2 separate regions of the Homo sapiens genome follow, and region 2 is linked to region 1. Evidence: promoter capture Hi-C in 16 types of primary human blood cells and fetal thymus (Javierre and others, 2016). All regions are on one chromosome and are shown on one strand. The core of a region is centred on a gene start or on the middle of the fragment in contact, and the rest is flanking DNA. Distances in the headings are between cores, read along the strand shown. Region 1 holds the start of ZNF699 (zinc finger protein 699). Region 2 overlaps ZNF136 (zinc finger protein 136).

Region 1 (4,706 bases), core at 1,394-3,893:
TCACAGGGAGACGTTTAGGCCTCTGGATGGCTGCGGGCGGGCCTGACTGATGTCAGGCTTTCCGCAAGAGGTAGTGAGCAGAGTCTTCTCTAACTCCCCCGGGGAAAGGGAGACTCCCTTTCCCTGTCTGCTAAGCAATGGGTGCCTTCCCCAGGCACTGACGCTACTGCTAGACCAAGGTCCGCTAGGTAACGGGCTCCTTCCCAGGGGCTGGCATTACCGCTAGACCAGGGAGCCCTCTGGTGGCTCTGTCCAGGCATAACAGAGGGCTCACCCTTGTCTTCTGGTCACTTCTCACCATGTCCCTTCAGCTCCTATCTCTGTATGGCCTGGTTTTTCCTAGGTTATGATTGTAGAACAAAGATTATTATAATATTGGAATAAAGAGTAATGCTACAAATGATTAATGATATATACAATCATATCTATAATCTATTTCTAGTATAACTACTCTTATTCTATATATTTTCTTTATTATACTGGAACAGCTTGTGCCCTCGGTCTCTTGCCTTGGCACCTGGGTGGCTTGCCACCCACGCGTACAAAGAAGGCAGAAAGGAAATACAGAAAATTCAAACACTGCTGGGATTCTGAATGTTGTTTGTCTTTTCCTTATACTTTTCCTTTAAAATAAAAAACTACAATGAGAACATAATGCTTCATAATAGAAAAAGATTTACACTTAAAAAACATAGATGATGAAAGGGAGCTGGCTAGGGCACCAGGGACAGGCATTGGGAAGGTGACCTCAAGCCGCAGTGAAGAAGTAATGAACAACCTAGGGACCAATACAGAAAGGCCACCTGTGGTTCACTTATATAACACATCTCTACCTCATATTATACCAAAATACATTCCCTGAGCAGTAAAGAATTATACGTTTTAAAAAGCAGTACAATTTGGAAGTAAATTAGGAAGTATTTTTATATTTTAGAGTTTGGGGAGACATTTAAAAGCAAACTAGGAAACTCAGAAACCATTTTACTAAAAGTATAGATTCATTGGGGATATATAAAATTGAATATATATATTTTTGAGATGGAGTCTTTCTATTGTCGCCCAGGCTGGAGTGCAATGGCGCGATCTCAGCTCACTGCAACCTCTGCCTCCCAGGTTCAAGCGATTCTCCTTGCCTCAGCCTCCTGAGTAGCTGGGATTACAGGCACCCGCCACCATGCCCAGCTAATTTTTTGTATTTTTAGTAGAGATGGGGTTTCACCATGGTAGCCAGGCTGGTCTTGAACACCTGACCTCAGGTAATCCACCGGCCTCGGCCTCCCAAAGTGCTGGGATTACAGGCATGAGCCACTGCGCCTTGCCTAAAATTAAATATTTTATATGGATATCATATTATAAACTAAGAGGAGCAAAATTATGTTATCAACTCAATTGTTGCATAAACATTTGATAGTGTTCATAAAAAATTATTGATAAAATATCTTTATAAACCTGGTTTAAAAAGATTAACTTGATAAGAGGTGCAACCTGTTGTAAACAGCTTACTGAGGAACTTTGGTAATCATTACCGACCAAGACAAGAATGCTTAATTTCTTTCCGACTTATAGTTGAGGAAGCCCTAAACAAACAATAAGAAAAAGAAATGACTCTGGGTGTGGTGGCTTACACCTGTACCCCTAGCACTCTGGGAGGCTGAGGTGAGAGGATAGCTTGAGCTCAGGAGTTTGAGACCAGCTTCAGCAACATAGTGCGATCCCATCTCTACAAAAAAATAAAGAAAATAGCTGGGTGGGGTGGTACGCGACTGTATTCTCAGCTACTTGGGGGGCTGAGATGGGACCATCACTTGAGCTGGGGAAGTCAAGGCTGCAGTGAGCCATGGTCGCGCCACTGCACTCCAGTCTAGGCGATAGAATGAGACATTGCCTCACATAAAGAAATGAGTTATACACATTAAAACAATGAAAATATGCAGAGAAAATATTTATATTTGATGGTTCAAATAATAAACTGACAGCTATCAGAATTCAGCAAGTTTCCAGGAAAAAGGTTCTATTTAAATAATTATCAATGGCTTCCCTCTACAGGAGAAGTTATCAATACAACAATGAAAGGGAAAACTAAAAGGCCCAAAAGGACTGAGTGAGTGTCAAGGAGAGTCTGTTTCCTATTAGAGCTGCAAATATATGTGTCCTGTGTACAGGACTGTAGCAACGTGGAGGATAGGTAGAAACCCGATCGATGAGCATCCTGTATCCGTGGTAGCTGAGAACCTGGATGGGAAGCCCTAGCCTTAGCCCCATCCCTAGGCCTTGTCACTTAAGCCCCGCCCAGCCCTCGTCTCCGCCCCCTAGGAATTTCTACCAAGCCCCGCTCCCAATCTGGTTCCACCTTTAGCCCCGCCCCTTGGAGTATTTAAAAGGCCACGCCCCTAGGTCTAGCCCCAGTTCCGCCCCTCAGGCCGAGTCATGCAAGTCCAGTTCAGGGTTCTGTTTCTTCTCTGTTTACTCCAAATCATGAAGAAACTAGGATTTCTCATCCACTTGCGGCTGGAACCAGCCTTGGCGCTCCTTTGCATCCCGCTCCTACCTGCTCCACCCCCTTCACCTCAAGTCCCGCTTCCCAGGCCCCGCCCCATACGCCATTTGCAGCGCCGAAAGAGGAATCAGAAGTGTGCTTCTGCGCATGCGCGAGTCGACAGCCTTGTCACCCTACGCCTCCGCCCGCGTCTGAGGAACATTTTTGCCTCCGCCCGCTTCCTGTCCTGCCCTGCCCCGCCCCGCCCTGCCTGCCCCGGGTCGGGTCCGCGGGAGACCGAGGGCTGGGTTTGGGAATCGGCGGTCTAAGGGCTGCCTCCCCGCCACTCCTTGTCCGGACCCCGCGCCCGGGGCCTCCCGCCGCCGCGGCGCCTCCTCAGAGAGCCCGGGTCAGCTGCCCCTGTGGCCGCGGCTGGTCCCAAACTCACTGAATCGGGAACTCTGGTCTGGGTACAGAAATCGGGGTGATTCTGATGCAGGCGAGAGTTGGAGAACCAATGTCGTAGTTCATCAGCCTCCGAAAGCATCCTTTGCTCTCTTTCCAGAAAGGAAGAGCATCTCTGCCATTCGTGTCTCAAGGACAAGCGCTTCAGCCTCGTTCTCTGTGAGCTGATCTGTGGATCGCGGCGTGTCGGGTGAGCACGGGGTGACATTTGCCTCGGCTCGGTCCCCTCCTGTCCCCTCTTTATGCATTAGGTAGTGTTTGGGCCAAGCGCGGTGGTTCACGCCTGTAATCCCAGCACTTTGGGCGGCCGAGGCGGGCGGATCGCTTGAGCCCAGGAGTTTGAGGCCAGCCTGGGCAACATAGCAAGATCCCGTCTCTACCAAAAAAAAAAAAAAAAAAAAAAGTAAAATAAAAGGTGCTCTCCTGTGTTCCCAGCTACTCGGGAGGCAGAGGTTGCAGTGAGCTGAGATCGCATCACTGCACTCCAGCCTGGGCAACAGAGCGAGACACTGTCTCAAAAAAACAAAAAGATAGTATTTGGTCTCTGGATATTATATTCTGCCTGTGGACATCAGTTTGATACATTATATTCAAGTGAAAGTGAACTGATGCATTTTGTCATTAATGATGCATTTGAATCATTTGTCTATAGATTGGTTAAATTTCACACAGAAAATTTGGTCATCTGTCAGTTTCAATCTTTTCCCTTTTTATTCCTTGCAGTTTCCATTTCTTTTCATTTCTTTACTGCACTTGCCAGGACCTCCAGTACAATGTCCGACAGAATAGCATGTAATTTACATCCTGTCTTGTTTCTGATTCCAGAGGGAATTATTCTATCATTTCACCATTAAATAGGATGTTTGCTGTAGGTGTTTGTAGGTTTTTTTCCTTTCTTTATTCCTATTTCTTTTTAGAAAATAGGAGTCTCGCTCTGTTGCCCGGGCAGGTCTCGAACTCATGGGCTCTCCGCCTCCCAAAGTGCTGGAATTACAGGCATGAGCCACTGCACCCGGCCTGACCGTGTTTTAAACCGCTGATTTTTTTTTCTTTAATTACTGGGTGTAATCAGGTTTTAGATCACTGCTTGAAAGTTGTACTACTTTCTAGAAATTCATTAATTACCTGTGCATCTTCATATTTATTCCTTAAATTTTTTCTATATTCTCCTTATGATATCTGTAATTATGATTAATTCTTGTTCATTTTTTTTTTGTTGTTGTTGTTTATGCCCTGTTGCTCTTAAAATTGCTGAGTCTGTTGCTGGCTGCAGTGGCGCATATCTGTAGTCCCAGCTGGTGGGAAGCTAAGGCAGATGGATCGCTTGAGCCTAGGAAATGAGATCAACCTGGGAACATAAAGAGTCTGTCTTAAACAATAAATTAAATTAAAAAATTTTTTTAAAAAGCTGAGTTTGTCAGTTTCATTAGTTTTTCTTTTTGCAAAGGATGCTTTTTTAGCTTTTCTGATTTTGTTTACTATGTTTTAAAAAAGATTATTTTCTATTTTCTTTCTAAACTTTTATGCTGGTCTTTATTCAACTTTATATATCAATAGTCTAGCCTATTAATACCGATTTTTTTTTTTTTTTTTGAGACAGAGTCTCGCTGTGTCTCCCAGGCTGGAGTGCAGTGGCGTGATCTTGGCTCACTGCAACCTCTGCCTCCTGGGTTCAAACAATTCTCTGCCTCAGCCTCCCAAGTAGTGGCGATTACAGGCACCTGCCACCATGCCCAGCTAATTTTTTTGTATTTTTAGTAGAGGT
Region 2 (4,629 bases), core at 1,304-3,803, 2.9 Mb before region 1:
ATACAATTTAACATACCTGAATATGAGAAACACATTTAAATTCATTGTTGGATTAAACACATTTCAAAATGGAAAGACAAATATTTTATTTACTGACCTAAAACAACACTACCTATGAAATTCATGCACTATTGCTTTCAGATTACTTACAGGATTATATCAATTTAACATTTCTTTGTGAGATTAAGCATTTGAAATCCATAGTCAGAGAACTATTTTAAATATGAGCCACTAATTAACAAAATATACATATAGCTTCTACATTTCCATCAGGTTATGTATTTTCTAGAGACTACATGACCCGCTATGCATGAGGCTTTTTGAAGTACTTACATTTATAGGATTTTGCTGTATTAGAAGTTTTCAAATGACTTTTTTTTTTTTTCTGAGATGAGGTCTTGCTATGTTTTGCACACTGGTCTCAAACTCCTGACCTCAAGTGATCCTCCTGCCTCAGCCTCCCAAAGTGCTGGGATTACAGGTGTGAGCCACCACACCCAGCCAGAGCCAAAACATCTGTTCAAATTCAATACCTCAACTAGTGAGGCCCTGCTGGGATTGAAATCCAGCATCTCCTGTTTGCCAGACAAGTACTTTAACCCACAAAGCCACAGAGCCAGAGCCCTCAAATGACTTTAAAAGTATAATGGAAAACCTTCCTTGTAGTTTTCACATTTATAGTGTTTTGATCCAGGGTACATTCTTACATGTTGTTGAAAGCATGTGGGCTGGCTAAAAACGTGTGGACATTGCTTATATTCAAGAGCTTTCTCTTTTGTGTGTTCTTTCATGGCTTCAAGTGGAACTAAAATGACTAAAGGCTCTCCCACACTCTTTACATTTACCAAGGTTCTCTCCACTACACATTCATGTGTGACAGGGTTGTGTGATGACAAAACCTTTCCTACACCCTTTACCCAGGGTTTCTCTCAAATATGGGTTCCTTTCCAAAAAGCATTTGTTTGGTTTTCTCCATGATGAGTTCTTTCATGTATTTGAAAGGAACTAAAATGATTGAAAGCTTTCCCATGTTACTTACATGTATATGGCTTCTCTCTAGAATTCTTTCATGTATTAAAAAAGGCACTGACAGAATTTCATGCTTTCCCACGTTACTTACATTCATAGGGCTTCTCTTCAGTGAGTATTTTAATGTATCTGACATGAACCCAGAGCATTAAAGGCTTTCCCACATGCATTTATAAGGTGGTCCATCTTCAGCATGTGTTAACATGTGTCTCTGAAAGCTGGCACGGCAAGAATAGGCTTTCCCACATTCCTTGCAATGATAGGGTTTCTGTCCAGTGTGAGTCCTTTCATGTAGTCGAAAGGAACTAGAAGATCTAAAGGCTTTACCACATCGCTTACATTCAAAGGGTTTCTCACCAGTGTGAATCATTTCATGTGTTCGAAAGGAGTTGAGATAACTGAAGGCTTTCCCACATTGCTTACACTCATAGGGTTTCTCTCCAGTATGAGTTCTTTCATGTATTCGAATTGATGTTGAAGAAACGAAAGCTTTACCACAATGTTTACATACATAAGGTTTCTCTCCAGTGTGAGTTCTTTCATGTATTCGAAATGGACTCAGAGAATGAAAGGGTTTCCCACATACCTTACATTTATAAGGTCCTTCTCCAGTATGTTTTATCATGTGTCTTCGCATACTTGGGATACAACTGAATGCTTCCCCACATTCCTTACATTCATAAGGTTTTTCTCCAGTGTGAGTCCTTTCATGTATTTGAAAGGTACTGGCAGATCTAAAGGCTTTACCACATTGTTTACATACGAAGGGTTTCTCACCAGTGTGAATTCTTTCATGTAGTCGAAGGGAGGGGAGATAACTGAAGGCCTTCCCACACTGCTTGCATTCATAAGGTTTCTCTCCAGTATGGGTTCTTTCATGTATTCGTAAGGTTGGGGAACAACTGAAGGCTTTACCACATTGCTTACATTTAAAGGGTTTTTCTCCAGTGTGAATTCTTTCATGCACTTGAAATGAACTCAGAGAATGAAAGGGTTTCCCACATACCTTACATTTATAAGGTCCATCTCCAGTGTGCTTTATCATGTGTCTTCGAACACTTGTGATACAAGTGAAGGCTTTTCCACATTCCTGACATTCATAGGGTTTCTCTCCAGTGTGACTTCTTTCATGTGTTCGAAATCTACTGGGATAATCAAAAGCTTTCCCACACACCTTACATTTATATGGTGTATATCCACTGTGTGTGATGATGTGTCTTCTAATTCTTTTGAGAGAAAAGAAGGTTTTTCCACATTCCTTACAATCATAGAGTTTCTCTCCAGTGTGAATTATCTCATGTGTTCGAAAGGAGTGGTGAGAACTGAAGGGTTTCCAACACTGGTTACGTGTATCTGGCTTCTCTCCATATTCCTGATATTCCTTTGGTTCATGTCCACTGTGATCTTTGATGTGTCTATTAAGGGATGACTGACCCATGCTGACTTCTCCATATACAATGCTTTCACAGAGTTTCACTCCAGGGATTTTCTTGCTCAGATTCTGATTTGCAAACTGGCTAAAAATTCCTCCACGCTGACTACCATCCTTAGTTTGATAGAGTCTTTCTAACATATGACTTCTGTAAAAAATGAGACGGACATTACTAAGGATTTGTTAATCATTTTATATTAATAGCTATTAAACTTGCATTTTCAATATTATCAGGTAAAGCGTAGACTCGATGCCAAGTCTGATTTGTTTGAGCATGAATGAATTCAATGCTCTGCAATGGGCTTGACCGCAACTATCACTCAAACAGTGATATTCTTAAATAGTTTCTTAATTCTGTTGACAAATGAACATTTTTATAAAAACTGAACATCTGTTTACACTGAAGAATATGTATTTGGGGAAAATATTCAAAAAATAAATCAATTTGAAGCTTGGCTTATCAGTTATGTTTGCCTGTTTTTAAAATTTCATGACATGCTAAGGTACTTTCAAGTGAATTTGCTTTCTCTGAGTACAAATTACCTTAGATTTCTCCCTCGGTGTTTGTAGTGATCTTTAATGTTCTGGTCCTTCCATTTTTTCCCTAAAACAGAGACCCAGAAAAATTCTGAATTAGTGCAAAATTATAGAAAAATTATTAGATTCTAGGTTCATGATACCCTGTGACTATGCCTGTTTTAGCCCCCCAAGTACTCTCCCTCCATGATGCAAACCATGGAACAGCATCACTGCACAAGAAGCACTTCTTCTTTAATTGCTAAGTGATGGAAGTATACAATCCTTACCTATAGAGGCCAGATTCCTCATGGTTTCCCACATCACATCTCTGTAGAGATTCTTCTGGGAAGGATCTAGCAAAGCCCACTCCTCCTGGGTGAAGTTCACATCTACATCCTCAAAAGCCACCGAGTCCTGAAACATCCCACATATGTGGAGAGGAGAATGGGTGAGACAGACAGGGCTGGGGAGCTGTACTCAATTCATAAGAAGTTCACATGTTTCAGGGGTCTGCAAACATTTACTCCACTGTTTGGTCATCATACTCACTTCCTTCCACACAGCAACTCTCATACTAGAATGGAACTATCGGGTAGAACAATAGCAGTGTCTGATCATCTTTCTTGGTGGTGGTTGCAAGGAGTAATACGTGCTGCCTGAGTCCCAGCTAATGTCTGCTCATACAGTGGACCTGTAGAACCTGTCATAACGAAGTCCTACCACCTACTATGCAAAAGAGTTTATATTAGCAGTCCTGAGACTGCTTACCCTTAAAAAAAGGCTCCTCACTCCTCACAACATTCATCTGAGGTAGGAGACCAACAGGACTTGTATTCTGATCACAACCCTACTGGCCAAAACAAGATCTGGCACAGGTAGGATAAAGTAAAGAAAGGGGCCAAAACCAGCAGACGACAAGAACAGCGATCTCTAGATGCTCTCACTGCTCATTAGCATAAAACACTCCCACCAATGCTATGACAGCTTACAAATGCCATGGCAATGACCTGAAAGTTATCATTCCTTCCTTAGAAAGTTTTAAATAACCCACCACTTAATTTGCATATAATTGAAAGTGGGTATAAATATAGTTGCCAAGAGACCATATGTTGCTGACTCTGGGTGTACTGCCTATGAGTTAGCACTGATCCACAAAGACCAGTACTGTTAAATAAAACACTGTTATCTAACACCACTGGCCTGCCCTTGAATTCTTCCCTGGGCAAAGCTGGAAACCATCCTGGGATAAGCCCCAATTTTAGGGCGCACCTGTCCTGCATCACATCCATTCCTGGTATCTGGGAAACGGATTTGGGGAAGGAGCCCAATGACCTATGTAAGAGTAGCTCGGTGCCTAAACTCTTTATGGAAAAAATATGAAAATTTCTGGCGTCCCACCTTCTGAGAGTTTGGGAATTTGTTACACGCGCAACACATAGTGCCCACCTGATGAGCCCCCAGAAACACTCCAGGAAGCATTTCGCATGTGTTCTCACAATTGGTTACTGGGAAAATTAAGCCCATCTTCTGTTATTATACTAAGAGAGAATACTTGCAAGCTTGTACCTATCCTGCAGATCAAATATAATTAAGTACTAAATGAGACTAATGAAGGATTTTTTACCTTTTTTTTTTTTTTTTTAGACGGA

What was found. The method cuts DNA at HindIII sites, captures the fragments that hold promoters and counts their contacts. A CHiCAGO score of 5 or more calls a contact.
Region 2: a fragment that was not itself captured here is called in contact with the fragment with the promoter of ZNF699 in region 1 in 1 of 17 cell types (monocytes); the score reaches 6.6 in monocytes.

The regions. Positions count from the first base shown.
Region 1 is chr19:9,307,775-9,312,480 of GRCh38, reverse strand. ZNF699 (zinc finger protein 699) reads left to right here and starts at 2,643. Exons shown (of 6, transcript NM_198535.3): 1 at 2,643-3,131. RefSeq lists silencers at 74-368, 2,724-2,973 and an enhancer at 2,544-2,663. The HindIII fragment of the contact is 15,955 bases long and covers 1-4,706 here.
Region 2 is chr19:12,184,550-12,189,178 of GRCh38, reverse strand. ZNF136 (zinc finger protein 136) reads right to left here. Exons shown (of 4, transcript NM_003437.5): 2 at 3,268-3,394; 3 at 3,005-3,065; 4 at 1-2,609. The coding sequence ends at 1,178. Among named protein-coding and RNA genes, the nearest start is that of ZNF136, 24 kb to the right of the region's middle. The HindIII fragment of the contact is 722 bases long and covers 2,193-2,914 here.